7 separate regions of the Homo sapiens genome follow, and regions 2, 3, 4, 5, 6 and 7 are each linked to region 1. Evidence: promoter capture Hi-C in 16 types of primary human blood cells and fetal thymus (Javierre and others, 2016). All regions are on one chromosome and are shown on one strand. The core of a region is centred on a gene start or on the middle of the fragment in contact, and the rest is flanking DNA. Distances in the headings are between cores, read along the strand shown.

Evidence for each region. The method cuts DNA at HindIII sites, captures the fragments that hold promoters and counts their contacts. A CHiCAGO score of 5 or more calls a contact.
Region 2: the fragment with the promoter of SAXO1 here is called in contact with the fragment with the promoter of IFT74 in region 1 in 1 of 17 cell types (total CD4 T cells); the score reaches 5.4 in total CD4 T cells.
Region 3: a fragment that was not itself captured here is called in contact with the fragment with the promoter of IFT74 in region 1 in 1 of 17 cell types (total CD4 T cells); the score reaches 7.0 in total CD4 T cells.
Region 4: a contact is called between a fragment that was not itself captured here and the fragment with the promoter of IFT74 in region 1, in 1 of 17 cell types (fetal thymus). The highest score is 5.1, in fetal thymus.
Region 5: a contact is called between a fragment that was not itself captured here and the fragment with the promoter of IFT74 in region 1, in 1 of 17 cell types (erythroblasts). The highest score is 9.2, in erythroblasts.
Region 6: the fragment with the promoter of HAUS6 here is called in contact with the fragment with the promoter of IFT74 in region 1 in 7 of 17 cell types (total B cells, non-activated CD4 T cells, total CD4 T cells and 4 more); the score reaches 18.7 in total B cells.
Region 7: the fragment with the promoter of RRAGA here is called in contact with the fragment with the promoter of IFT74 in region 1 in 1 of 17 cell types (total CD8 T cells); the score reaches 5.7 in total CD8 T cells.

Annotation. Positions count from the first base shown.
Region 1 is chr9:26,954,665-26,958,554 of GRCh38, reverse strand. IFT74 (intraflagellar transport 74) reads right to left here and starts at 2,143. Exons shown (of 20, transcript NM_025103.4): 1 at 2,039-2,143. It overlaps IFT74-AS1 (IFT74 antisense RNA 1), which reads left to right and starts at 2,248. Exons shown (of 2, transcript NR_121605.1): 1 at 2,248-2,428; 2 at 2,540-2,775. RefSeq lists a silencer at 570-864 and enhancers at 1,461-2,195, 2,196-2,931. The HindIII fragment of the contact is 1,304 bases long and covers 1,319-2,622 here.
Region 2 is chr9:19,031,793-19,036,155 of GRCh38, reverse strand. SAXO1 (stabilizer of axonemal microtubules 1) reads left to right here and starts at 2,947. Exons shown (of 4, transcript NM_153707.4): 1 at 2,947-3,285. The coding sequence starts at 3,248. RefSeq lists enhancers at 2,518-3,071, 3,072-3,625. The HindIII fragment of the contact is 8,262 bases long and covers 1,528-4,363 here.
Region 3 is chr9:19,223,844-19,227,631 of GRCh38, reverse strand. No RefSeq gene overlaps it. Among named protein-coding and RNA genes, the nearest start is that of DENND4C, 5.0 kb to the left of the region's middle. The HindIII fragment of the contact is 1,072 bases long and covers 1,313-2,384 here.
Region 4 is chr9:33,299,248-33,303,269 of GRCh38, reverse strand. It overlaps NFX1 (nuclear transcription factor, X-box binding 1), which reads right to left. Exons shown (of 24, transcript NM_002504.6): 3 at 1,849-2,007; 4 at 2-79. Among named protein-coding and RNA genes, the nearest start is that of NFX1, 11 kb to the right of the region's middle. The HindIII fragment of the contact is 7,607 bases long and covers 1-4,022 here.
Region 5 is chr9:19,153,084-19,157,465 of GRCh38, reverse strand. No RefSeq gene overlaps it. Among named protein-coding and RNA genes, the nearest start is that of PLIN2, 28 kb to the right of the region's middle. RefSeq lists a cis regulatory region at 2,808-3,396. The HindIII fragment of the contact is 1,679 bases long and covers 1,743-3,421 here.
Region 6 is chr9:19,101,031-19,104,792 of GRCh38, reverse strand. It overlaps HAUS6 (HAUS augmin like complex subunit 6), which reads left to right and starts at 1,889. Exons shown (of 17, transcript NM_017645.5): 1 at 1,889-2,269. The coding sequence starts at 2,142. RefSeq lists an enhancer at 1,647-2,210. The HindIII fragment of the contact is 8,228 bases long and covers 1-3,762 here.
Region 7 is chr9:19,047,180-19,051,413 of GRCh38, reverse strand. RRAGA (Ras related GTP binding A) reads right to left here and starts at 1,987. Exons shown (of 1, transcript NM_006570.5): 1 at 389-1,987. The coding sequence starts at 1,754. The coding sequence ends at 813. It also overlaps a transcript of SAXO1 not described here. RefSeq lists a silencer at 1,729-1,918 and an enhancer at 1,526-2,047. The HindIII fragment of the contact is 15,757 bases long and covers 1-4,234 here.

The DNA.
Region 1 (3,890 bases), core at 894-3,393:
TAGTTCTACTGAGTTTGTTTTGTTTAGTTCTACTGATTTTGTTCCTAAGTGTTTAACAGGTACTTTACTCTCTATTCCTACAGCACTGGCCAATTCAGGGCATCACTGACTCAGGTGGACTATTATACCAGCCTCTTAAGTGGTCCCCTTGCCTAACACACATTTTGCCTATTACTTTCTCTGGGAATCCTTCCATGACCAGTCCATAACTGGTCTTGGAATCTTCGTCTTCTTCAATTTCAGTGTATAGGCCTGTTCTACATGCTACCATGCATCCTGTGTATTACTTTATTCCAGAACCTATCACACCACTTGAAATGATCTGCTTAAGTATTTCTCACCCTTTATGGCAAGAGCTGAATCTTAATCATCTTTATATCCCCAAAATCTGTCTCAGTGATAAGCAAAAACTTTGTTCTCTCTTGTATCTTTTAAATTTCCTCGTACATAAAGGTATTGCCAATTACAAAAATTTACTAAATTGTTAAAAAGCAAACAAAGCGACCGGGAGCGGTGGCTCACGCCTGTAATCCCAGAACTTTGGGAGGCCGAGGCGGGTGGATCACGAGATCAGGAGATGGAGACCATCCTGGCTAACATAGTGAAACCCTATCTCTACTAAAAATACAAAAAAAAAATTATCCGGGCGTGGTGGCGGGCGTAGTCCCAGGAGGCGGAGCTTGCAGTGAGCCGAGATCGCGCCACTGCACTCCAGCCTGGGCGACTGAGCAAGACTCCGTCTCAAAAAAAAAAAAGGCAAACAAAGCGTGTGTTGGACTAAAATGATTTCTCTGTTTCTACACTCTATGTCCAGTACTACTTTTCTGACTTTTCTTAGCATTACTCGTAATCAGTCCTTGGACTGCTTCTATCCTTTCTACAGTCATGCATCTTTATAACTCCAACTATGTGTACGGCTCACTAATCAATGTCTACAGTTCTGCCCTTTCAACTGGGCACCAATTTTGAGTTTTCAATTGTTTATCTGAAATTTCCATTCAGATATCTCATTTGAATATGTTCACATCAATCTTCCTGACCCCACTAGCTCCCTGATTCTAATTCCTTGCCATTTTGAACTCTATGTACAAAGCAAAAGAATTTCAAATGGAAAAAGGAATTTCATGAAATGACTCTTTGAAAAGGAAGACGGTGTATGATCAAAATGGTTTTTCCAGAAGAAAACGAGTACAATAAACATCTCTTTCCAGTGGAAAAGATATTACTCTAGGTTTCCTGCTAACTTTGAGAAAATGTACAACATAAAAAATTTCACCCAATTTTCTTTGCCACCGTTTTACTGTGGTGAAAAAAAGCTTACCATTATATTATTACCAGTGGGATTAAGAGGCGGGCATTAGCAACAAATATACCACTAACTTCGGGGTTATTCAATCAAAGAGTCACACAATTTCCAATTATTCACACAGAGAGGCAGCCTGGCCTTTGGATCCAGAATGATTAGCGATACAAACTAGTGCTGACAAAGTTAGCGGCTGCATAATCTTGCCACCTTAATTAACCCCTCAGGATTTCATCTTCTGTAAAACAGAAGGGTGACATCTACCTTGCAGGGCTGTTGTGAAGACGATAAGTATTACATTTAAAACATCTGCTTCTAATTATTATTACTATCGTTATCCTCCCTAAGCCAACCATTCTCACACAGGTGAATAAGTGGAAAGTTGCTAACTGCCCGCACTGTGATCAACAGACAGAAATAAGTCCCTTCCACTGTAAGAGGCAGAAATGTATTGCTTTGACTAAAATCCTTCAGCCCATCGCGGTCCTTCCCTCTGCTCTGTGCTTGGCGGGTCTCCTGCGGGGGGTCGGGGAGGGGTCGGGCTGTTGGAGGAGGTCTGTTCGCAACCTTCGCTCGACTAGAATTGGTACATGCCTGGCCTGGCTACAGGCCCGACGGTAACAGTTAGCTAAGACCGAGTTTGAATTTGTTTTGTTTGGAGCGGATCAGCATCTCCAAGGCAAGAGAACAGACGTGGGAGGGAGGGAGGAAGAGATGGGACCCGGGGATTCTCACCTCCGCCGGCGCGGAAGGAGGGCAGTTGCCCGGCTCGCGGGTGCCTTAACTTCTTTCTGAGGCCCACGCTCAGTTTTCCTCGGCTCTCAGGCCTACCCACTAACTGCCGTGCGCCGCGGCGTATCCCGGCAACGGGGGCGGGATAGCGGAGGCTCCTCATCCTGAGTGACCAATCCTCCGCCTCAGCCCTTGGTTACACACGGAGCTCTCGCGAGAATTGAGGATATGTTTGTTTCTTCACCACGCTTCAGTGCTTTTTGGAAAAAGTGGAAAACAGCGGGGCGGCTGGAAGACAAACATTTTATGTGAACGTTTGGTTTTCTTGATAATCAGAGCAACCTCCGTGTGCCTTACTTGAAGTAACTCTAGCGAGTTTTGCTATGTCCCTAGGTAACCTCACGTCGGCTAACGTTGTTAACAGGTTACATTTGAAGTTAAGTGGTAGGCAGCATTGTGCAATTTTCTAAACTCCTAATTTGTGGTAGTTTTCCTTCCTATTAGGACGGCATAGCGTACACAACGCATCATGAAGTATGGATGCGATTCTGGCACCAACTGTTCCGTTCCTGCTTTCACCAGAAGCTTTGCGTCTTTAAGCTTCCTTTCATTAGAATTTGGATCCAAGTTTGTGGGGAAGACTGTGAATTCAATGGAAAGTGTCCTTTTTTTTTTTTTTTTTAATTTAAGAACTACTTCACCTTAAATCCCACTTCTCTAATAAAATAACTTTTACTGTATGTTTCCTTCCAATCTTCATTGATAACAGCTTAAATGTGATTGCATATGTATTGGGATTTTAACATTATTTTACACATTATTTCCAACTTGCCTGCCTTCGAGGAGTTAAAAATCAATACAACACAAAATGAGATAATGTTATGTGGCTGAATTCTCCCTTAGTTTGTGAAACATTTTCATGTAATTATCTCATTTGAGCTCACCCTATTTGCAGTGGCCATTTGTCATCCTTTTGGCAGAGTTTCTCCCTTACCCTGCCCCCCAACACCCTTACAGGAACTGAAAGTGACAGATACTGGCTTTCCTAGTCTTCCTTATTACTGGGACATGAGTATTATTGCTTGCTAGACTCTCCAATCTAATTTGGTGGACTCAACTCAAACTTGAATGACAACCAGAAGCAGGACTTCAGAGAGTCTGTTGAAGTAAGGGTGACAGCCGCAGTAACTACATCGTTTCCGAGACTGCAATGTTCTATCACCAGCAACCAGTGTCCAGCATCAGTGTGTTGTTGCAAGCTGCAGTGTTAGGTACTCAGAGGCTTTATTGGGAGGAGAACCTCTAGCTTGTTTCTTCAGCTTCTGGGAGAGTCTGTGAGCTGCTTAATGTCCTTTAATAAATTCATTTTCAGCTTTTATATCATTTATAGATGATTTCTGTTCCTTGCACTTAAGGACCCTGACAGATATTAACAGTTGAAATTGGCAGGACAGATACTATTATCCAAGTTTTAAAGAGATTAAATAATTTGCTTAAGCTCATTTAGGTAGTAAGTATTGATCCCTGTCCCCATTTCTTTTTCATGATGAAAAAGGAATAGAGAATAGGAATACATCTCACTTATTTGCCTCTGAGCTTCCTTAGAGTAGGCACCATATCTTATTTGACTTTGGATCATTATGTATTAGGTTCTGTTGCTTTTAAGGTTATATCAAATTGGAATTAGGTTATATCAAGTTGTAATTTGGTTAGTAATTAGGTTATGTCAAATTTTAAGTTTATTGTAAGACTACTTGTGTTTCAAGTTCCTTTCTGTCTCTAGTCCTTTTCACTGCAATTCTCTCTTCCTGGAATCTTTGTCCCTCTGCTTTTCACTGTCCAAAGTCCTGTTCAT
Region 2 (4,363 bases), core at 1,698-4,197, 7.9 Mb after region 1:
CTACATTAGGTATTTCTCCTAATGCTCTCCCTCCCCCAGCCCCCTACCCCCCGCCAGGCCCCAGTGTGTGATGTTCCCCTCCCTGTGTCCATGTGTTCTCATTGTTCAGCTCCCACTTATGAGTGAGAACATGTGGTGTTTGGTTTTCTGTTCTTGTGTTAGTTTGCTGAGAAGGTTTTTCTTTTCTATTGCATTGTCAGGATGCAAATTTTCCAAACTTTTGTGCTCTGCTTCCCTTATAAAACTGAATGCCTTTAACAGCACCCAAGTCACCTGTTAAATGCTTTGCTGCTTAGAAGTTTCGTCTGCCAGATACCCTAAATCATCTCCCTCAAGTTCAAACTTCCATAGATCTCTAGGACAGGGCAAAATGCCACCAGTCTCTTTGCTAAAACATAACAAGAATCACCTTGGATTCCATTCCCAACAAGTTCCTCATCTCTATCTGAGACCACCTCAGCCTGGACTTTATTGTCCATATCGCTATCAGCATTTTGGGCAAAGCCATTCAACAAGTCTCTAGGAAGTTCCAAATTTTCTCACATTTTCCTGTCTTCTTCGGAGCCCTCCAAACTGTTCCAACCTCTGCCTATTACCCAGTTCCAAAGTTGCTTCCTCATTTTTGGGTAACTTTTCAGCAGCATCCCACTCTGCTGGTACCAATTTACTGTATTAGTCCATTTTCATGCTGCTGATAAAGACATATCTGAGACTGGGAAGATAAAGCAGTTTAATTGGACTTACAGTTCCACATGGCTGGGGAGGTCTCAGAATCATGGTGGGAGGTGAAAGACCCTTCCTACATGGCGGGTGGCAAGAGAGAAAAATGAAGATAAAACCGTCAGATCTCATGAGACTTATTCTCTATCATAAGAGCAGTATGGGGGAAACCGCCCCCATGATTCAAATTATCTCCCACTGGGTCCCTCCCACAACATGTGGGAATTATGGGAGTACAATTCAAGATTAGATTTGGGTGGGGACACAGAACCAAACCATATCAGATGGGTCAGGGTAAGTTTGGCTGGATGTAACAAAAGATGGACAGTAAGTGTAACTAGGTGAGGGGAGGTTGTCCCTACTGTCTAGCACTGATCTTTAGGTATATCATTGTTGAGGCTATTTTGTCCACACCATCTTCATCTTTCAAGATCTCTACCCTCTATTGAGGGCATGGATGGAGGAAGTGGGGAGTACCATGATTGTTGACAAGGTGGCCACCCACAAGGGCAGTTTGAATGGCAGGGGGCATGAACAGGCATTCTTCTGCTGAAAGATTTATGGATAATGTTTAGGCAGCCATCAAGAGAAGGCTGGTGTCCAGCACTGTATTTCCTCTGTAAGGACTGTGTGATGTTCTCTGTCAATGGCAATGGATGGCATGCAGGTTTTGCTTTGACTTCCAATAGCTCCCACCTCTTTTTTGTCTGGCCATGTTTCCATCCTCCCCTGTAGAGTTCTGACTTCCTACTGGGAAGGCAAGGAGCAGCTTCCCACCCCACTGTTCTTAAGAATGATCAATAAGCTTTGCTCCTGTCTGAATCTACCTTGCTGACTTCCTATAACTGGGGTTGGAACTCTCTCTCTGTAAAATGTCAGATAGTGAATATTTTAGCTTTTGTGGGCCAAGAGGCAAAATCGGGAATGTTTACACAAATTTTTTGAAAAAATTCAAAACTTTATTCACAGACACTGAAATTTGAATTTTAGGTAAGTTTCATTTGTCATGTAATATTATTATTTTAATTTTTTCAACCATTAAAAAATATGAAAACCATTCTTAGCTCAATGGCCAGATAGAGTCAAGTGGCCAACTGCAGACAATAGTTTGCTGACCTCTATTCTAGAGCCTATTACTGAAGGAAAAAACCTAACCCCCCCCACACAAAAAGAAACCCTCTGAATATTAAGTGTCTTGCAGTCCAAGATGCCTCTGACTGACTCATTCACTAAAATGAATGGAAAGAGTTAGGAAGCATAGGAAAGAAAAGCATAAAGATTGTCAATACTTTAAGCTCCCATTTCCCATAAGCAGGAAGTCAAAATGTTTTAAGTCCAAACAACTGGCCAGAGCAGTGTCTTTTGAACTTGCTTCATGACCAGAATCACCTGGCTTCTTGTTGAAGCTAGATTCCCGGACTAGAGGTTTTGATGCAAGGGAGACTTCTGGGTGGGGGTGTGCTCTCGGGATCAGGTAAGCTGAAGAAACACTATTCCAGGGGGTGTAAAGGAACCTCAAAAGCTGTAGTTCTTAAAGTGTGGTCCGTGGCCCAGCAGAACCAGCATTACCTGAGAGCTTGTAAGAAATGCAAGTCTTTGGCCTACCCTAGAAACACTGAATCAGAAACTGGGGGTGGGGTCTGGCAATCTGGTTTTCATCAAGCCAGGTGGTCCTGATGCCAACTAGAATTTGAGAACGCCTGCTTCAAGGCATCATTACCAGCATCTGGAGAAGTGATTGAGAACCCACCTGAGCAGTGAAGGCCTGGGCGCTCTTAAACCACTGTGTTCTCAAGAGCGCAGGTCTGTGGGTGAGAGCAATTCTAACAGACATCTGAAGCCAAAGGCCTAGGTTTCCACAGGAAGATCTGGAAACCCTGTTCAAGGCAAGCCTTTTGGAAGTCAAGGCTGTATTCCCCTAAGAGGGGGCACCATGGATCCTAGAGATAGCAAATGCCACCCAAGGTGATGGTGAGGGAGTTTTCAGCTTTTCTGCACGTGTGACCGTTTACTGCACCAGGAGCTTTCTAGTGACTTCCACCTTTTTCAGGTTTTTCCAAGGTTCACCGGGGAACCCCTGTCCTGGGCCTGCCAGTGAGGTGCTGGGAGCTTCCCGACCTCACAAGCGGCTCTTGTGATGTAATTGCCACCTGAGGCGTGCCCCTCCTGGCCCTGGCGACATCACAGAGGCTACCTGGGCACGGACCCCGCAGCTTCCTGGGGCCCAGTCAGCCGCTCCAGGTGCTTAAGTCTGGACTGCGGAGGCCGGGGCGGTGGCGTGCAGGGTGAGGTCTCCCGGGCTGGCGCGCGTGCAAGCCCCCTGCTGCTACCTCGCGCTAGGCCAGCTCCAGGAGGGCAACAGACGACAGGACATTGCAAAAGGGCCACTTAAATTTTCCTTCGAGTAAACAGAACACCTGCCAAGACCCTCGAGCCTGGGCGTGCCCCAAGACAGGTGGTTGGGGTCTAGGAGTCGGCTGCAGCTGGCGATGCTCTGAGGGGACGTCAGGGCCTCAGGATCGCCCCTATGAAGACGAAGTGCATCTGTGAACTGTGCTCCTGCGGGTAAGGTGGCCACGCCCAGGGCAAGGCTGGGGGAGCCTGGGTTTTCAGACTCCCGAGGAAGGGAAGCCTCCCCCAGCTGCTTCATCAGGCGGCATCACGGTGGGTTCGTCCACTTGCTACGTTTTTTAAGCCACAATTGTGTCAACTAGCGTTGTGCCCGCGGACGCCACATCAGTTCTGGCGAATGTGGCTGTTTTCGGGCCTTCTGTGCCGCTTCACTTGAGAACTGCAGGAGGGTTGAAAATGGGCGTGACCGCGCAGTCTGCACTCCCTTCCCTGAAGCCCAGAAAGTGTCAGCCAAGGAGGGAGAACACCTGGCCCAGTGGGACCAGTCTTGCTCCTTTTGGGAAAGTGATAGGATGGGAGGAGAATTCCTGTAGTATAACTGAATTTCTCATTCAGAGAGATTGTTACTTTGTCAGAGAAGTATAAGGTATTAGTAAAACTTGTTCCACATTGTGTAGAGTTGAATAAGGATAATGAAAACATTACTTTCACAGTCGCCTGGCCTGCCAGGTCTCCCTTCTAACCTTTAAGGACCATCTTTGGGTGGAAGCGCAGTAAAGGTGGTCCTGGGGGAAATCATGGACTTTAGTCAGAGTCCCACGGGCTGACTGGTCTGCTGTCACTCACATGATCTCTTAGAGGCTCCTTCTATCTGCTTCCCAGGGCAGCTGGGTTTCTGCTTGGCTGGGGCAGGGAGTGGGCAGCAGAGGAGCAACAGGCAAGAGGGTTCTGAGGTCACCTTTCCTGGGCTGTCATTAATTGTGGGATCTTAGATTGGTAACTAAACTCCAGGTCATAGTCGCCTCATCTGTACCAACAATACGTACCTCATAGGACTATTGTAAGAGTTAAGATCATGTATGTGAGTCCTGGTACATGGATTGTGCTTAATATGTTAGTGTCCTGAAATCTGAAAAAAGGGCAAATATGACACATGCATATAAAAATGGTATCAGTAGTGTGGAGAATTAAAGGGCACTCTAAAAACTGGATCAGCAACCTTCTATATCTCTGGCATCAATAAATGGTTCCCAACTCTGGCTGCTGATTAGAATCACACAGGGAGTTTGAA
Region 3 (3,788 bases), core at 599-3,098, 7.7 Mb after region 1:
ATCCCAGCACTTTGGGAGGCTGAAGTGGGTGGATCACCGGAGGTCGGGAATTTGAGACCAGCCTGACCAATGTGATAAAACCCCGTCTCTATTTAAAAATACAAAAATTAGCCAGATATGGTGGTGGGTGCCTGTAATCTCAGCTACTAGGGAGGCTGAGACAGGAGAATCTCTTGAACCCAGAAGGCAGAGATTGCAGTGAGCCGAGATCTCACCGCTGCACTCCAGCCTGATGGACAGAGCAAGACCCTGTTTCAAAAAAATAATAATAATATTTGACTGTATAAAAAGTAGGAGAGTCGGAGAGCCCGATATCAACATAATTGTTATAATGATTATAGTGTCACAGTTTTAGTTGGGCCTATGTAGATAGAAGAATGCATAGGAAAAAATCAGCCCATCGAAGAGGGGAACACAGACATTCTAGCAGAAAGCTCCTTCTTGCTGCCTTCTGACTGGGCGTGGTCACTGCAGATTTCCGTGGAACTGTGACACAAAGGAGTGGAATGAAAATGTTGAAAATTTCCTTAAGATATTTTTGGGGCCGGGCGCGGTGGCTCACACCTGTGATCCCAGCACTTCGGGAGGCCGAGGCGGGCAGATCACCTGAGGTCAGGAGTTTGAGACCATCCTGGACAACATGACGAAACACCATCTCTACTAAAAATACAAAAATTAGCCGGGCGTGGTGGTGTGCGCTTGTAATCCCAGCTACTCAGGAAGCTGAGGCAGGAGAATCGCTTGAACCCGGTAGGCAGAGGTTGCAGTGAGCCGAGATTGCACCACTGTACTCCGGCCTGGGCGACAGAGCAGGACTCTGTCTCAAAAAAAAAAAAAAACATGATTTTTTTTTTTTTTTTTTTTGAGATGGAGTCTTGCTCTGTCGCCCAGGCCAGAGTGCAATGGTGTGATCTTCGTTCACTGCAACCTCTGCCTTCCAAGTTCAAGCGATTCTCCTTCCTCAGCCTCCTGAATAGCTGGGATTACAGGCACGCGCCACAACACCCGGCTAATTTTTGTAATTTTTAGTAGAGACGGAGTTTCACCATGTTGTTCAGGCTGGTCTTGAACTCCTGACCTCGTGATCTGCCCGCCTCAGCCTCCCAAAGTGCTGGGATTACAGGCATGAGCCACCATGCCCAGCCCCGCTTCAAAAACTTCTAATCATTGCCCTGTGAGGGCAGGAGTAATATATATCACAGATGTGTATTTATATGTTTTTATTCTGGATGCCTAGGATCTAGCAGAGTAACTCATATATATTATAGTCTCTCAGAAACTAATTGATGGGCCAGGTGTGGTGTCTCAAGCTTGTAATCCCAGCACTTTGGGAAGCCAAGGTGGGCAAATCGCTTGAGCTCAGGAGTTCAGGACCAGCCTGAGCAACATGGCGAATCCCCATTTCTACCAAAAATACAAAAAATTAGCTGGGTGTGGTAGTGCATGCCGGTAGTCCCAGCTACTCGGAAGGCTGAGGTGTGAGGATCACTTGAGCCTGGAAGGCGGAGGTTGCAATGAGCCAAGATCGTGCCACTGCACTCCAGTCTGGGTGACACCTAGACCCTGTCTCAAAAAAAAAAAAAAGTTAAAAATAATAATAATAATAATTGATGAATGCCTGGCATAAATCAGTCTGTGCTTCTCTCACTTTCTTTCTCTCTGTTCTTGGGTAAGTTACTTAACTTTTCCTCATCTGTAAAGTAAGTAGAATGATATTCACAAAGAAGATCATTTATTAATTTACAATAGGCTATAAATATTAAACACATCAGTTCAGGAATCAATAATCAGCACATGTGATAGGCAGCCTCTCAGTATGGTTTACAACAATTCCTGCCTCCTGCCATTTATATCCTTGTGTAATCCCCTCATATTGAGTGTGGGGTGAACTTACTGACTGGTTTCTAATACACTGAGTACTTCAAAACTGATAGGATAACTCTAACAGGATGAAATGATAAAAGACTGTGGCTTCAGTCTTAAATTCTTTGTCTCATCCTCTTGGATTGCTTGCTCTTGGGGAAACTAGGTACCATGCCATCAGGTTTCCTTGTGATTTTGATTAGAAGTGGATCCTCCCCAAACTGAGCCTTGAGATGAGCATGGCCTCAGCCAACATCTTGATTGCAGCGTCCTGAGAGACCGTGATCCAGATCACCCAGCTAAGCCACTCCCGGATTCTTTAGTCATAGAAACTGTGAGGTAATAAATGCTTCTTCTTTCCAGCTGCAAAATTTGGGGATAATTTGTTACACGACAACACATAACTAATACAGCAGTACCTGGAAGGTAACAAGTGCTCATTAATGGTAGCTCTTCTTTTAGTGAATATGATTGGATTCATTCAGCATATGACTTGGCATCCTGTAATGCTGATCCAAGCTTATTTTAATACCATAATGATAGTGTTTACAATTGCAGTAAGAAAAAGTAGGAAAAGTAGAAAGACTGACTTTTGGTTTTTGTTTTTTGTTTTTTGAGACAGAGTCTCGCGCTGTCGCCCAGGCTGGAGTGCAGTGGCGCGATCTCCGCTCACTGCAACCCGCGCCTCCCGGGTTCACGCCATTCTCCTGCCTCAGCCTCCCGAGTAGCTGGGACTACAGGTCCCGCCACCACGCCCAGCTAATTTTTTGTATTTTTAGTAGAGACAGGTTTCACCCTGTTAGCCAGGAAGGTCTCGATCTCCTGACCTCGTGATCCACCCACCTCGGCCTCCCAAAGTGCTAGGATTACAGCGTGAGCCACTGCACCCAGCCGGAAAGACTGACTTTATCTCATCTGTTATTTATAAACCACCTTTGATAGAAGAGAAATTTGTTAAGAGTGTGTTTCATATGTTGTCTAGGATTTGCTTCAAAATAATCCGTGGGAGATGGGGAGGAGTGCGGGAAAGAGAAGGGAGTAGGTAGGGGTTAGGTAAAAAAGATTAGACACATGTGGAAGTTGGGTGATTGGTACTTAAGAGTTCCTTTCCTTTTTATGGCTTTTTGAATTTTTCTGTAATAAAAAAGTCTTCTTTTTTAAGTATTTTATGGAATCAGAAGTTTGGAGCTGAATGCCAATCTTTAGAGATCATCTATTCTAATTAACTGATTTGATAAGATGAGGAAATTAAGCCCCAGCCAAATTTACTGAGTTGTCCAGAGTCCCTCAGTCTCAGTTTTGGTGATTTCATATTTACATATTGAGGAGAAATTACTCACTTCAAAGTTCTTTTGATTGATTGATTGATTGCCAGCCTCAGAAGTCACATAGCTCACCAAACAGTAACTTGTTCGAGATTTCCTAAGAGAGCCTCCACAGCATTAAAATTCAAGCCTGGTCTCCACTTTCCAATATGTAATCTGCATGTGGTAGACTGGCGAGTTATTTGGCTCCAGTCCCCCAACTCATTAATTTTAGAAAACATAGTATTTGAAGGCCCAGTGCTTCACACCTGCAGGCACCGTTAGCCACTGTTTTAGATTTTTAAGTTAAGTAACATCAACAAACACTAAATCTGTTTTATTAAACACTAAATCTCCTATTTAAATGACCCAGAATATCCCACCCTTCGCAGGGAGTGTTAGCACACTCTTCTCTTTGTGCTCCCTCCCATATCTTATCTTGCTAGGACTCTGTCTCAGCATTATCAAAGTGGGCTAGAGTCTCTTGGTACTCAGCACATTCTTTATCTAGCTTTCTTTTCTAGGCCTACAGGCCAAACGTGGCTGGGCAAGGAGTGGGAAGGACTGTCACGAGGCTTCTCATCTTGAGTGGGAGGAGAGTAAGTGATCCTGAGAACAGTA
Region 4 (4,022 bases), core at 1,184-3,683, 6.3 Mb before region 1:
CCACAGAAACAAGTGTAGGTATTAGGAACATGTGCAGAAACATTCTGACAGGCAGGGCACCTCCAACCACTCTGGCCATCTGTCAGGAAAAATGGGAGTAGGCCAAATAAATTTTCTTCCAAAAGCTACATGTAATTAAAAAAATTTAAATCTATAGGAAGACACAATATTGAAGTAGTGGTAATAATTTCAATGTTAAGCATATCAGACATTTAAGGAACAAATTCACAATACTGACTGCTTAGCTTGAATACAGCATTTTCCACTAAATATGGGGTTCATTAAAAAAAAAAAAAAAAAAAGGCCAGGTGTGGTGGCTCATGCCTATAATCCCAGCGCTTTGTGAAGCAGAGGTGGGTGGATCACAAGGTCAGGAGATTGAGACCACCCTGGCTAACATGATGAAACATCATCTCTACTAAAAATGCAAAAATTAGCTGGGCGTGGTGGTGCGCGCCTGTAATCCCAGCTACTCAGGAGGCTGAGGCAGAAGAATCACTTGAACCTGGGAGGTGGAGGCTGCAGTGAGCCGAGATCGTGCCACTGCACTCCAGCCTGGGCAACAGAGTGAGACTCCCTCTCAAAAAAAAAACAAAAACAAACAAAAAAAAACCACTAGCTAGGCATGGTGGCTCATGTGTCTAATCCCAGCATTTTAGGAGGCTGATGCAGAATTGCTTGAGCCTGGGAGTTCAAGACAAGACTGGGCAACACAGCAGACCGTCTCAAAAAAAAAAAAAATTAGCTGGATGTGGTGGCATGTGCCTGTAGTCTCAGCTGCTTGGGAGTCTGAGGCAGGAGGATCATTTGAGTCCAGGAATTCAAGGCTGCAGTGAGACATGATCACACCACTGGACTCCAGCCTGGGTAACAGAGTAAGACTCTGTCTCAAAAAAAAAAAAAAAAAAAAAATACAGTTAGATAGAAGGAATAAGATCTAGTGTTTAGTAGCACTATGGCTAACAACAATTTATTATATATTTCAAAATAACTAGAAGAGTAGAAATGGGATGCTCCTAACACAAAGAAATGATAAATATTTGAGGTGTTGGAATCCCCATATGCCAATTACCCTGATTTGATCATTACACATTGTACGCTTGTATCAAAATATCATGTGTACCCCATAAACATGTAAACTATTACGTATGCATAGTAAAAATTTAAAAATGAAAAAAAAATGTTTTTTTGTTTGTTTGAGACAGGGTCTTGCTCTGTCACCCAGGCTGGAGGGCAGTGGTGCAATCTCAGATCACTGCAATCTCCACCTCCTGGATTCAAGCAATTCTTGTGCCTCAGCCTCCCGAGTAGCTGGGATTACAGGTGCCCGCCACCACGCCTGGCTAATTTTTATATCTTTAGTAGAGATGGAGTTTTGCCATGTTGGCCAGGCTAATCTTGAACTTCTGACTTCAGATGATCCGCCTGCCTTGGCCTCCCAAAGCGCTGGGATTACAGGCGTGAGCCATCATGCCTGGCCAAAAATGAGAAGAAGATAAATTAAAAATAGAATTACCATATGATCCTGCAATCACACTTCTGTTTATGTATCCACAGGAAATAAAATCAGTAGGTCAAAGAAAAAATAATAAGTAAAAGCCATCATTTTCAATAAGAGTGACTGATTTTGTCGTATCTTAAAATATATTTTAATATTGTTGTTTAGCTGGTTTATTTAAGATCTATAACTTAATTCTGGTCATATGAAACACATGATCAAGGTAACATACTCTCCCTGCAGAAAAAGTAGTTAAGAGAAATTAAACTGTATTTTTAAAGCTGGGCTTAATAATACTTAAACGTATCAAATAGGGGAGAATAACTACTCAGAAGAGAGAATTAATTGACCTGCTTGAGATGCTGGAGACCTTGCCCATTTCTTTATGCAGTTCAAATGAAACACATGGTAACAGCTCTGACAACTCCACACTGGGGCCGTGACACGAACCAATTCACAGCACACCATGCACTCGTATTTTTCTGTTGTTAGTTGTTCAATTAGAGAACCTGTTTAAAAAACAAAATAACAAAAAAGATTAACTCAAACACAAAAAACCATTCCTCACTTTAATCAACCAAGGATCAGCAAGTCACTCAAGAGAAGAATCCAAACACAGAGATTTTAAGGGATATCTGATTCTGGGTAAGGCAGCTGGCTATTCAGACTGAGGCCAAAAAGGGGCAGGAATTTGCTGAGGAAGAGGATTTAGGAAGGAGACACTCAGGTGGGGATTCCCACAATTAAGGAAACATTCCCAGGAAAACAGCAGAGTAGCCAAATGCCCCTTGTAACATAGCCTGAGGATCCACTGGGCAATACAGGATCTTGCTTTGCATTTTCTATTTTCCAGGATCCTCTAAATCTATCAGATCCATGGATTTAGGTTAGAAAGAGGCTCGTGAAGCTGTAGTGTCAGCTATAAGAAGCCCAAGTCTGGGCAGGTTCCAACAACCCATGAGTGGTGAGATGGCTCTAGCCGTTGCCCTCAAAGTCTTTAGTCATTCACTTAACAAAGATATTCTTGGTGCCTACCATAAGCCCCATGGTGGTGTTACAGTCCCTGGCTCCAGGAGCTCAAAGTCCAGTGACACAGACCAGTGTGTAGTATCAGAATAATCCTCCCAGATCTATTCCTGAATACCTTCACCCACTTCCAGATTTTTTTCCTCAAACACAATTGCAGCAAAGTCTTTCTAGATTTCAATACAGCCAGATACTCTCAAAACTGAGTGTGAGTGTGTGTATATGCTTTTTTGAGTACATACTTTTAGCACTGCATTTATTTCATAATATTATTGTTATTTGCTTTCAGGTCTAAATAAGTTAAAAGAATAAAATTAACCTTAAATACAACATTGCAAGCACATTACATATTATTATTTAGTCCTCTCAAAAAGGCTGTAACAGGTTGGACACGGTGGCTTACACCTGTAATACCAGCACTTTGGGAGGCCAAGGCGGGCAGATCATGAGGTCGGGAGATCAAGACCATCCTGGCCAACATGGTGAAACCCCATCTCTACTAAGAATACAAAAATTAGCTGGGCGTGGTGGAGTGTGGCTGTAATCCCAGTAGTAATCCAAGGAGGATGAGGCAGGAGAATCTCTTGAACCCGGGGGCGGAGGTTGCAGTGAGCCGAGATTGCACCACTGCACTCCAGAGTGAGACTCCGTCTCAAAAAAAAAAAAAAAAAAAAAAAAAATGCTATAACATAGGTACCATTTTACAGATGAAGAAACTGGCTTCATGTAGTTAGATCATTTATCCAAGGTCACACAACTAGAAATTTAAAAGTCAAAATTCAAACTTGTCAAACTATCTGACTCAAAAGCGCACACTGTAATATTCCATAATATTGGCTCTCCTAAGATTTACTTTCTGATTGTTCAGTTTAATGTCAAAAGAAATAGAGAACACCCTGAGACTGAAAGCTCAGGAGAAGGGAGAGTTTTGTCTACCTTGCTGAGTGTAGTATTTCCAGTGTCTGGCATATACTAGGTGCTCCATTAAATATTTGTTAAATTCATGGATAAAGGAATAAATGAGTGATATTTAGTCTGTTCCACAACCTCTTTCTGTGAAAGTTACAGGCGTCACCAAAGTTTAGGCTCGAGTGCAGTGGCATGATCGTGGCTCACTGCATCTTCAAACTCCTGGGCCCAAGCGATCCTCCCACCTCAGCATCCTGAGTAGCTGGGACCACAAGCGTGTGCCACTATACCTGGCTGATTTTTTTGTTAGTTTTTGTAGAGATGGGGTCTACCTCTGTTGCCCAGGATGGTCTTGAACTCCTGGGCTCAGGTGATCCTCTTGACTCGGTTTCCCAAAGTACTGGGATTACAGAAATTTAACCAAATTAAACAAAAATCTTCCCTGAATAAGAAGTAAATAAAACAAGAGCAGAAACATCTTTTCCAAAAAGGAAAGATGAAGAAACTGTCAGAGATGGTAGGAGACTCAGGAGACATGACTAAATGCAACGTGGTATCCTGGATTGGGTCCTCAAACAGAAAAAGGACA
Region 5 (4,382 bases), core at 1,333-3,832, 7.8 Mb after region 1:
TGGTCCCAGCTACTTGAGAGGCTGAGGTGGGAGGATGAACCCAGGAAGTCAAGTCTGCAATGAGCCGCGATCGTGCCATTGCACTTTGGCCTGGACAACAGAGAGAGATCCTGCTCAAAAAAGAAGAGGAGGAAGAGAGAAGAAGAAGAGGAAGAGGAAGGAGAAGGAGAAAGAAAAGGCTTTCAATGTGTCATAATTTTCTTTTCTTTTTTTTTTGAGACAGAGTCTTGCTCTGTTGCCCAGGCTGGAGTGCAGTGGCGCGATCTCGGCTCACTGCAAGCTCCTCCTCCAGGGTTCACGCCATTCTCCTGTCTCAGCCTCTGGAGTAGCTGGGACTATAGGCGCCACCACCACGCCCAGCTAATTTTTTATATTATTTGTAGAGATGGGGTTTCACCATGTTAGCCAGGATCGTCTCCATCTCCTGACTTTGTCATCCGCCCGCCTTGGCCTCCCAGAGTGCTGGGATTACAGGCGTGAGCCACTGCACCCGGCCCAATGTGTCATAATTTTCTGGCATCAATGAGAATTGGTACTTTTCCCAGTGATTTCTCCTATGATTCCCTCAGCCTGTTCTCTAAATCTAGCCATTACTGAAGGTTTTCTCAGAACCTCCTTTCTTTTCTCTCTGGACCCTCTCTCTTGATCATAAGCCATCTCACACAACTCCTAACTCCTAATTCCAAGGCAATGACTCCTTTTTTTTTTTCGGGGGGGTGGGGGGGTGGACAGAGTTTCACTCTTTTTGTCCAGGCTGGAGAGCAATGGTGTGATCTCGGCTCACCGCAACCTCTGCCTCCCGGGTTCAAGTGATTCTTCTGCCTCAGCCTCCCGAGTAGCTGGGATTACAGGCATGTGCCACCATGCCCAGCTAATTTAGTATTTTTAGTAGAGACGGGGTTTCTCCATGTTGGATTTTGGTCAGGCTGGTCTCGAACTCCTGACTGCAGGTGATCCGCCCACCTCGGCCTCCCAAAGTGCTGGGATTACAGGCATGAGCCACCGCGCCTGGCTGTCAATGACTCCTAAATCAACCTTCACCACCCTGAGCTATCTGTGCACAGAGGGACAATGTGTGCTGGTGTCTAAGGATGACACTTAGACCACAGACCAAGAACATAGGTAACACCTGTGCATTGTAATAAAGCCCTAGATGGTAGGTTGGCAAACCTTGTCTTTAAAGGGCCAGATAGCAAATACTTTCAATTCTGTGGACCATGGGGTTTCCCTGTCCTGATTATTCAGCTTGGTCATTGTAACATGAAAGCAGGCAGAGACAATATGAAATCAAAGAGGCATAGCTGTATCCCCATAGGTTTTTATTTGCAAAAGCAGGTGGCAGGCAGGAGCTGGTTGTGGTTTGCTAAGCCCTTTGATCATTGATTTTCAAACAAGAAGCCCCTTCAGAATCCACTTGGAGAGAAAGAAAGAAATGAGAGGAAGGAAAGAACTCAGTTCTTCCCTCCCACTTATTCCAACCAGAGTAATTTAGCTTTAATCTATTTGTTTACAATGGCTGACTAACATTTCATTTGTACAAAGGGTTTCAGGGCCAAAAAGTTTGAAAGCTGCTTGTCTACCTGTTCTCTGAGTTTCATTCTAGGTATGAATCTGTCACCTTGCTCAATCTAGTCACTGTCTGCTCTGAGCCACATTCTCTGCCAAAGTAGTAACCGAACTGCCCACTTCTGATCACATTACTTATCAACCTTCAGTGACTCCCTATGAGGCATTCCCAAGCTTCCCCCTTAATCTAACATACCTTCTCCATCAGCCACCCTGGGCTCTGTGCAGGAGACTCCCCAAAGGTGCTTTTCCTTCCTTCTGTTTCTGCACATTCTCCCCTTGCCTGAGAGGCTCTCTGCCTCCCATCCCATGCTCTTTGTAATCATCTATTTCACCACCCAGAAGCAGCTTCTCTTCTATGTTCCTGCTGTACTTTGTTCATGGGGCTTTTATGTGTGCATGTTCTAGCTCCCCTGCTGGATTAATTATCCTTATTAAGGGCAGGAATTACATTTTATAGATCTCTGTACCCAGCATAGGCATTAGCAAGATACCATATGCACAACAGCTATTTGAGCTCTTTATTTAGGTTGAAATGGGGCATGCCCTGGCAGAGTGCATCCTACCTCGCCAAATATTTCTTCACCTGTCTGTCATCTTCTCACTCCCACCTCCTCTCACCATCTGTAGGAGGCTATCATTACAATGCACAGGTGTTACCTAAGTTCTTAGATTATAGAACACCTGGTTGATGCCTGGGAGCTAAAAGAACAAGATCCAGGTCAACTAGTAGTGAACAAGACATGAGAAAGAGGCTTGAGAGAGAGACAAGTCCACAAGCCTTTGATGACAGGCAGACATAAGCTCTCTGGCCCTAGTGGGAAACGTCTAGGCTGAGACAATTGCCAGAGTTTGGAAATACATTGTTTTACAGTAGAAAGAGAGCAGTAGGTCTTGGAAAAGAACATACTTAATATTTACAGCTGTTTAATATTAGGTGGATTTCTAATCCTCTGAGCCTCATCTGTAAATTAGGAATAAAACATCTTCTGTAAACCTCTGAGGGTTAGCAATAATGTTCCTCATACGTAGCATACACAGCAGGCTCAATAAGTGGAATTACAGGTTGTGAAGAAAGGGAGTAAAGAGGCAAATGAGATGTAAAAACAAGAAGAAGGAAAGGTTGTTTTAAAGATAAATGTCTTTATTTTTCTTTATAGTCTTGCTATGTTGCCCAGGCTGGACTTGAACTCCTGGCCTCAAGTGATCATCCCACTTTGGCATCCCAAAGTGTTAGGATTACAGACATGAGTTACCATGGCTGATCAAGAAAAATGTCATGAACTACTCTTTTTTTTTTTTCCACGTATGACCAGTAAATCACATTGGGCTCCTTTTAACCATGGCTGAAGTGAGACTGTAATGATGTGGCATGTGCATAGGAATCACTTGGACATCTTGTGAAATGGCAGATTCTCATTCTATAGGTCTGGGTGGGCCTGATACTGTGCATTTATGATGTAATTCGGCTGGTCTGTGAACCACACACTGTGAGTAGAAAAGTGGTTGTCCATGTAGGCTGTTGAGATAAAAACAGATGAGTCAGCTGGGATGCCTGGTCTGCTTCCCTCACATGCCTAAAAGCTACCATGCTTTCAAGAAGAAGGAGGTCAGCTGAGGGAGGTTAAACTGTTAGGGAGAACAGCACCACGTGGAATGATAAGGGCCAAAGGATGGCGCAATTACAAGTGAAAAAGAGAACTTGTGTTCTTTGGGCCTTATCTACAGACCATATTCGGACACAAGAAACTGGATTGAAATTCTTCTCAGGGAACGTTAATCTCTTTGGACCTTGGTTGAAATGCTGGAATAATTAAAAAAAAAAAAAAGATTAAGCAAGATACCATTAGAAGCTTTTGCAACAAGACACAGTTTCATCAGCGGTAAAATGAGAATAATAATAGCAATACCTAAAGTAAATGTAGCAAATTAGTCATTGCAGAATCTAGGTGGTGGGAGTGTGGGTGTTCACTGAACAATTCTTTCTTTCTTTTCTTTTCTTTCTTTCTTTTTTTTTTTTGAGATGGAGTCTTGCTCTGTCTAACAGGCTGGAGTGCAGTGGTGTGATCTCAGCTCACTGCAGCCTCCACCTCTGGGGCTCAAGTGATTCTCCTTCCTCAGCCTCCCGAGTAGCTGGGATTACAGGTGCCTGCCACCACACCCAGCTAATTTTTGTAGTTTTGGTCGAGACGGGGTTTCTCCATGTTGGCCAGGCTGGTTTCAAACTCCTGACCTCAAGTAATCCGCCCACCTTGGCCTCCCAAAGTGCTGGGATTAGAGGCGTAAACCACTGCACCTGGCCCCACTGAACAATTCTTTCAACTTTCCTGTATGTTTGAAAAATCTTCAGAGTGAAATGTTGAAAAAATATGCCTCCAAATAAGGTTGAAATTAGATACATTAGAGTAAAATAGAGGAATGTAAATAACATTAGCCCAGTCTGAACACTAGTTACTCTCTAAGGGACATTCTTTTAGCAATTTTAGAAATTATTTTGGAGGCAGAAATACACATAAAATGTTTCTGAGGGCTGGGCGCGGTGGCTCACGCCTGTAATCCCAGCACTTTGGGAGGCCGAGGCGGGCAGATCACCTGAGGTCAGGAGTTCAAGACCAGCCTGGCCAACATGGTGAAACCCTGTCTGTACTAAAAATACAAAAATTAGCCAGGTGTGGTGGCAGGCGCCTGTAATCCCAGCTACTGAGGAGGCTGAGGCAGGAGAATCACTTGAACCCGGGAGGCAGAAGTTGCAGTGAGCCGAGATCGCACCACTGCACTCCAGCCTGGGCAACAGAGAGAGACAACATACCAAAAAA
Region 6 (3,762 bases), core at 640-3,139, 7.9 Mb after region 1:
TCTGTCACTAGGCTGAAGTGCAGTCGTGCAATCACAGTTTACTGCAGCCTCAGCCTCCCAGGGCCCACGTGATTTTCCCACCTCAGCCTTCTGAGCAGCTGGACCACAGGCGTGCACCACCAGAATGGAGTCAGAGATCTTACAGATGACCTCCATAATGAAAAGCTATGGGTGATAGCATAAACTTCAAAAGGTGCTTTTAGGCTGGGCACGGTGGCTCATTCCTTGGGAGGTCAAGGTGGGCAGGTCGCTTGAGCCCAGGAGTTCGAGCCCAGCCTGGGCAACTTAGTGGCTTTTCTTTCTTTCTCTCTCTCTCTCTCCTCTTTTTTTTTTTTTTTTTTGAGACAGAGTCTCACTTTGTCGCCCAGGCTGGAATGCAGTGGAAGGATCTTGGCTCACTGCAACGTCTGCCTCCCGGGTTCAAGCGATTCTTCTGCCTCAGCCTCCCGAGTAGCTGAGCTGGGATTACAGGCATGCGCTACCACGCCCGGCTAATTTTGTATTTTTAGTAGAGACGGGGTTTCTACATGTTGGTCAGGCTGGTCTCGAACTCCCCACCTCAGGTGATCCGCCCACCTTGGCCTCCCAAAGTGCTGGGATTATAGGCGTGAGCCACTGTGCCCCGCCTCTCTCTCTTTTATTAAGGTGATTTTAGTGAGGCAGGAGACAATCATTGCCAGAGGTAGCAATGAGACTTAAAAGCAGGTTACCCAATCCACTTCCAGGCCCTGTTGTCAGTGGGGTTTGTGGTAGGCAACAGCTGTCAATTAAGACGACGGGCCGGGTGCGGTGGCTCACGCCTATAATCCCAGCACTTCGGGAGGCCGAGGAGGGCGGATCACGAGGTCAGGAGATCGAGACCATCCTGGCTAACAGGGTGAAACCCCGTCTCTACTAAAAATACAAAAAATTAGCCCGGCGTGGTGGTGGGAGCCTGTAGTCCCAGCTACTCGGGAGGCTGAGGCAGGAGAATGGCGTGAACCTGGGAGGCGGAGCTTGCAGTGAGCCGAGATTGCGCCACTGCACTCCAGCCTGGGAGACAGAGCTAGACTCCGTCTCAAAAAAAAAAAAAAAAAAAAAAAAAAAATTAAGAGGACTGCAGGCGGCCAGGCGCAGTGGCTCACGCCTGTAATCCCAGCACTTTGGGAGGCCAAGACCGGCAGATAACCTGAGGTCAGGAGTTCGAGACCAGCCAGCCAACATGGTGAAACCCCGTCTCCATTAAAAATACAAAAAAATTAGCCGGGCGTGGTGGCGGACACCTGTTAATCCCAGCTACTCGGGAGGCTGAGGCAGGAGAATCGCTTGAACCCGGGAGGCGGAGGTTGCAGTGAGCCGAAATCGCGTCACTGCACCCCAACTTGAGCAACAAGAGCGAAACCCCGTCTCAAAAAAAAAAAAAAAAAAAAAAAAGACTGCAGGACTGCAGGGGAGTATAGAGCCAGATTTCATTTAAAGCAGGAAAAGGAACATCCGGCATTTGAGGACATAGATTTCGCTAACGACAGAAATGAGGCTCAGAGATTACGTGACTTGATTAGAGTCACAGTGAGCATAGCGGAGGATGGAACCAATGCTTTAACTCTACACCGAGGCATAGTGCTCCATTTATGGCTTTTTTGTGACGTAACAACTAGGATACACAAGCAAATGGACCCCACTAACCAAGAATCAGAAACCCGAAGGCCCGAGGATCTGGGCACGACAGCGGTTAAGCAAGCGCAGAGCAAGTCGCTGGCCGCGCAATGCCCGGTGGGTCTTGCAGTTTCTTGGCTGGGCATGGCCGGAAGGGAGGAGAGAAGGACGCATTGCATGGCGGGAGATATAGTCTTTGCCGGAAGTCCCTCCTCCCTCGGACGCCTGGCGGCGCCGGCGCACACTGCTCTTCCTTAAGGGCGGGAGTCTCGGTTTGTGGTGGCTTCGCTGAGGCAGTGGTGGCCGCACTATACCGTTAGAAACTCAATTTCCCGGAGGTTGTGAGGCCCTTTGAGGCGAAATCGCTCTGGGCGTGAAAGGAGCAGGCGTTGGCAATGGAAGGACCACCGCGACCTCAGGCTGACCGTAGGGAGGGATCTTGAGGGCCCTCCGAGTCCCCTGGGCTTGCGCTTTCTTTCTTTGCAGCCACCGTGCCTACCGCGAGGATGAGCTCGGCCTCGGTCACCGCTTTCGAGAAGGAGCATCTCTGGATGTATCTGCAGGCGCTCGGCTTCGAGCCAGGCCCGGCAACCATTGCCTGCGGAAAGATCGTGTCGCACACGCACCTCGGAGTGTAAGGAGGCCGGGGCCGGCGGGGCGAGGGAGCCTGAACCGGGGGACGCCGGGGGACTCCCCCTTTTGTAGACCCCGGAGGTTGATTAATCAGAATTGGTTGAGCAGTTACTCTGTGCCAGGCATTGGCTCCAAAGTTCCTACTCCCAGTTGCTGCCAGCCTAGGGGCAGAGACAGACAGTAAATAATGCAAGAGTGCCGGAAGCGCTCTGTAGGGGAGTGCAAAAGTCTGCAGATGGGGAGAGTGCAAGACTGGAGGAGCAGCTTAACTCTGCCTATGTGGTGGAGGGGTGGTCTGTGAAGTAGTGGGAGGGATGGCGGGTGGTAGTGGAAGAGCATGGGAACCATATGTACAAAACACCTTTTGGACTCAAGGGAGCCTTTGAAGGTGGTTGTTTAATTTTATAATTTTTAATTTTTTAATTAGTAAGGCATGTTGGAGTTAGCATAAAACAACGGAGAAGGGTATTAAAAACAAATACCCTTTTAAGAAAAGTATGGAAAGTAAAAGCCCCTTCCCTACTTTTTCCACTTCTGTTTTATCAACTTTAGCCAGTATCTCTATTTAATCATTCCCACTGTAGGCCAAGAGGAATTCTTTTCTTTCATATGGAGTCTCCCTCTGTTGCCAGGCTGGAGTGCAGTGGCACGATCTCGGCTCACTGCACCCTCCAACTCCCTGGTTCAAGCGATTCTCCTGCCTCAGCCTCCCGAGTAGCTGGGATTACAGGCACTTGCCACCACGCCCAACCAATTTTTGTATCTTTAGTAGAGACGGGGTTTCACCATGTTGGCCAGGATGGTCTCGATCTCCTGAGCTCATGATCCACCTGCCTCGGCCTCCCAAAGTGCTGGGATTACAGGCGTGAGCCACCGTGCCCGGCCTCTATTTTTTTAAAGTATTATTATTTTAGAGACAGTAGCTAACCATGTTGCCCAGGCTGGTCTCAAAATTCCTGGGCTCAAGCAATCCTCCTGCTTCGGTCTTCCAAAGTGCTGGGATTATAGATATGAGCCATTGTTTTTTGTTTTGAGACAGGGTCTCCCACTCTGTCGCCCAGTCTGGAGTGCAGTTGTGCGATCACAGCTCACTGCAGCCTCCAACTCCTGGGCTCAGGCGATCCTCCCACTTCACCCTCCTGAGTAGCTGGGACTACAGGTGCGTGGCACCATGCCTAGGGTCGGCATGTTGCCCAGGCTGGTCTTGAGCTCCTGGCCTCCAGCAATCCCCCCGCCTTGGCCACTCCAAGTGCTGGGATTACAGATGTGAGCCACCGAGCCTGGCCTGTTTTATTTATGTTCATAGTTGTACATATTTTGGGGATATAAAATTTTGATATTTTGATACACTTATACAATGTATAAGGATCAGATCAGGATAAATGGGATAGCCATCATCTCAAACATTTATCTTTCCTTTGTGTTGGAAACATTTCAGTTCTTTTCTAGCTATTTTAAAATACACAATAAATTATTTTTAACTATAGTTTCACT
Region 7 (4,234 bases), core at 738-3,237, 7.9 Mb after region 1:
ATATTGCCCAGGCTGGTCTCGAACTCCTGATCTCAGGTGATCCTCCCACTTCAGCCTTCCAAAGTGCTGGAATTACAGGTGTGAGCCACCACGACTGGCTATAAAGTAGTATTCTGACCCACATTTTACCAATGAGGAAACAAGTGTAATGAAATTAAGTATTTGCCCATGTTCACAGAGCTAGTAAGTGAAGGGACCAGAATACTAACTCAGGTGGTCTAGCTTCAGTCCATAGCATAAGCGCTTCTACAGCTGTTACCAAACATCACTAAAGTGCTGGGGGCTAAATTCACAGAATCAAATTTGCCAGTCAAGCAATACTTGTGGGCAGTCAGAATTTTTAGATTTGCATATTAAGCACTTTCAAGTTATTTCAAATAAGGACATGTTTTAAATTGCTAACACGTTTATTCATGAATGAAGCCAAGAAGAATTTATAAATGCATTTTAATACCTTGCTGATAAAATAGTAACATTCCGTCTTTGCAATCTGATACGGAATACAGGAAGATACTGGTAAAGGCTTTGATGTGCATATCTATCATAACCAGGTAATGAGAACACACACGAACCACCTACTTTAGTGTTACACCATACCAACTTCTCAGAAAGGTCAGCTTCAAGCTCTACTGGGTAGCTGAGTAAATAGCGTCCAATGTTTAAAGACTGGGGAAGCGGGGAGAAAGATGAAAGGAGTAAGCAGCACACACTTCAAAGCCCACTTTTAAGCACACGACATTATGAATATTAAAAATAAAGGATGCAAACAAAAAAGGCAATTCAGCATTTTCAGAAAGAGCATTTGGCAATATTCAACGCATAAGGAGACTGTGCTTGGGGCCATCCACTCTCTCCAGCTTCTCAAAGTGTTTCCGGGCATTGCGAATGTTGATCAGAGTGGCCGCAGAAGGGATCGACGGATCTGACATGACCACCATCACGTACGTATTTGAGGTGAAGATGTCGATGAAAGCAGCGAAGTTGGAATTCCTAACTTCCATGCTCTGGAAGGAAGCGGCCAATTTACTGCAGCTCAGCTTGAACTGTTTGATGATGTTGCTGATCTTCTCAAACCGGTGGACGTCGCGCTGCTCTTTGCACTGGTAGTGGGAAATAACCAAGAATGTAGCTCTTTCGAACAGCAGAACTTCATCGGCCTCAATGATTTGGGCAAAATTCCTGAGGTTCATCTCCAGCTGCTGAACGTTGGGAATCAGCTGGTAGACGATGCTGGACCAGGCTTTGTAGAGCGTCTCATCCCAGATGGACGTTCGAAAACAAGCACACTCCAGCGGGCGAGACAGACGCCTCAGGTCTTCCTCTCGCTCTTTAAAAATCAGGTCACGCTGATCCTCCTGAACCAGATCCATTTTGTGCACCAGGCAGAAGATTTTGGCGTCAGGAGAGTTCTGGAGGATGGCCTCCAGACACGACTGGTAATAATGCATGTCCTTTTCCAGTTCGCGGCTCTCCACGTCAAACACGTAAATCAAAACTTCCACGTTACGGAAGATATTGTCTCGCTGGCTGGTGAAGTAATTTTCCATGAAGGTGTCCTGACCGCCACAGTCCCACAGGTTCAGCACCAGGTTCCCTAGGAATCGGACGTGGGAGTGTTCCACGTCAATGGTGGCCCCCAGGCGCCGGGTGTCGCGAGCAATGTAATTGGCGAAGATTATCGACCTCATGCTGGTCTTCCCCGACCCGCTCTTCCCCATCAGCAGCACCTTTTTCTTCATGGCTGTATTTGGCATCACCCGCCGGGGCACCGCGGACTGGGCCTGAGGGCGCGGCCTACACGCAGCGCCGAGGGAGGGGTCGGGGGCTGCCGGGGACTCGCAGGCCGCGCCTCGCTCCGCTCCGCCGCGCAGCTGGGCAGGCAGGAGAGTCGAGAGCGCGAACCCGGGGCTGGAGAGGCCGCGGACGGGCTGGCTCTTACTCAGATGGGAGCGCCCGCGGCTGTCAGTGGCAACGGCTCGGGAGATACGCTCGCTTTCCGGGAGGGAGCCGCTGCGTCCCCGCCACCACCCACTTCCGGCGGCGATCTCGCGAGAGCTCCCTCGCTCCGCCCTCCGTGCCCGACGAGCCTTGAAAAGCCGCTGCTCTAATGAAACCTAACCGGGGCGGCGTGAGCCCTAAGATGGAAGGGAAGCTCGAGGACTTCGGTCTTTTGTTCTGTTGCAGCTGGGTTTGCTGTTGCTAGGGGTACGTGTGTGGTTGGCCGGGGGAAATGCTGCCCTCTCGTGGCCAAAAAAAGCCCCAACCGCCACCACCACCGCAACTGGCTTTAGGAGCGAGGTGTGTCGGGCCGGTTTCCGCAGGGGCAGCCGACTGGTGAAGTGGAGGGAAAGCCTAACTTCCCAGTCCGCTTAGGCCTCCCCAGCTTGCCCGGCCCAGTGAGTACAAGGGCAGGGCAGATGGAGACTGTGCAGGCGCGGAAAGTGAGACTTGTAGGCAAGCGATTGCCTGTTGCTGCGCAGCTAGGTAATAGCAAGTCCCTCCTAGGAGACATCCTGGCTTCCAGTGGGTGCTTTTAATTCCTTTCTCACATCTGCTTTTCCGTAATCTCAGACTTTAGAATTTATAATTAGAATTCCAAAGCTCGAGGAAATGATAATGTGGAATCCCAGGCATTAGTTCCATCCTCACAGTAACCCTGTGAATTAATAACCCTATTTTCAAGTTAGGGAATCAAAGGTTAGAGAGGTTAAGTCACTTGACCAAGTTACACAGATACTAAATGATGAAATGGAATTTGGTTTTAGACAATCTTGCTGCGGTCTATTTGCCTAACAATAGGCTACCCTGTGCCCCTCTCAAAGCATAATATGATTCTGCTCTTGGTCTTCAAGTAGATGAGTGAATCAGTGTCGCCAGTATCGTTCATACAGAATGAATGAGAGTCATCAGGATACTGAAGCCTCTGTATCTACCTTAAAGTCCTTTTTTTTTCTTTTGAGACGGAGTCTCACTCTGTTGCCCAGGCTGGAGTGCAGTGGCGCGATCTCAGCTCACTGCAACCTACGCCTCCTGAGTTCAAGCGATTCTCCTGCCTCAGTCCCCCAAATAGCTGGGATTGTGGGCACCTGCCACCACGCCCGGCTAATTTTTGTATTTTTAGTGGAGACGGGGTTTCACTATGTTGGCCAGGCTGGTCTGGAACTCAAGCCAGCCACCTGCCTCGGCCTCCTAAAGTGTGGGATTACAGGCGTGAGCCACCGTGCCTGGCCTAAAGCCCTTATCAAAGTGTATACTGTACTGTACAAATTCAGGTATTCCATTCTTTCATTTATTCAAAAAATATTTTAATTCCTACTGTTAACGTGTGCAGTAAAAGAAGTTCAAAAATGGCCTTTGCTGTAGTTTATGGAAATCATAGAGTGAAATTCCATAATACAATATAGTATGTGGAAAATCTCCTCTCAATGTATTCAGTTTCATCTCCTTGGTGCTACCTCTTCTGGAGCCTTCTTATCTGATCGCCTTTCACCACCATTCTGGGGTTTCCCTTCCCCGTTCTTTCGAGTTGGGTATTCTTTTTCCTGATTTCACATCTTCTCATTTTTGGCTCATTTGGTGGAACACATGTTCCAATAGTTTCCAGATAAAAAGTATGAGGAGAGTAAAAATTTCAAGAGATTGGATGTCTGAAAATTTCTTTGTTTTTACCCTCACACTTGATTGGTTGGACATAATTTTTCCTCAGAGTCTTGGAGGCATTGCTCTGTTGCTCCATCGTCTTTTAGCAGCCAGTAGTCTGATGCCTGCTTCTTGGTTTTGATCTATTCTTTCCTCTCTAAAAACATATTCGAAATTTTCTTATTCTAGTGTTCTGAAACTTAATGATAATTGGCATTGTTGAGCCCAAATTTGCATTGTACTGGACTCTCCAATGTGTCTTTTAATTTGGAAACCATGCCCTTGAATTCTAAACAATGTTCTTGAATTGTTTGATGATGTATTTCCTCTATTCTGTCATGTGAATACTCCTAAGGTCTGGATATCACATTTTACGGAGTCTCCTCTAATGTATTTTTTTTCTTTTTTTTGGAGACAGAGTCTCACTCTGTTGCCCATGCTAGAGTGTAGTTGCACGATCTTGGCTCACTGCAACCTCCACCTCCTGGGTTCAAGAGATTCTCTTGCTTCAGCCTCCCAAGTAGCTGGGACTACAGGCCTCCACCACCATGCCTGGCTAAGTTTTATTTTTGTTTTTGTTTTTGTTTTGAGATGG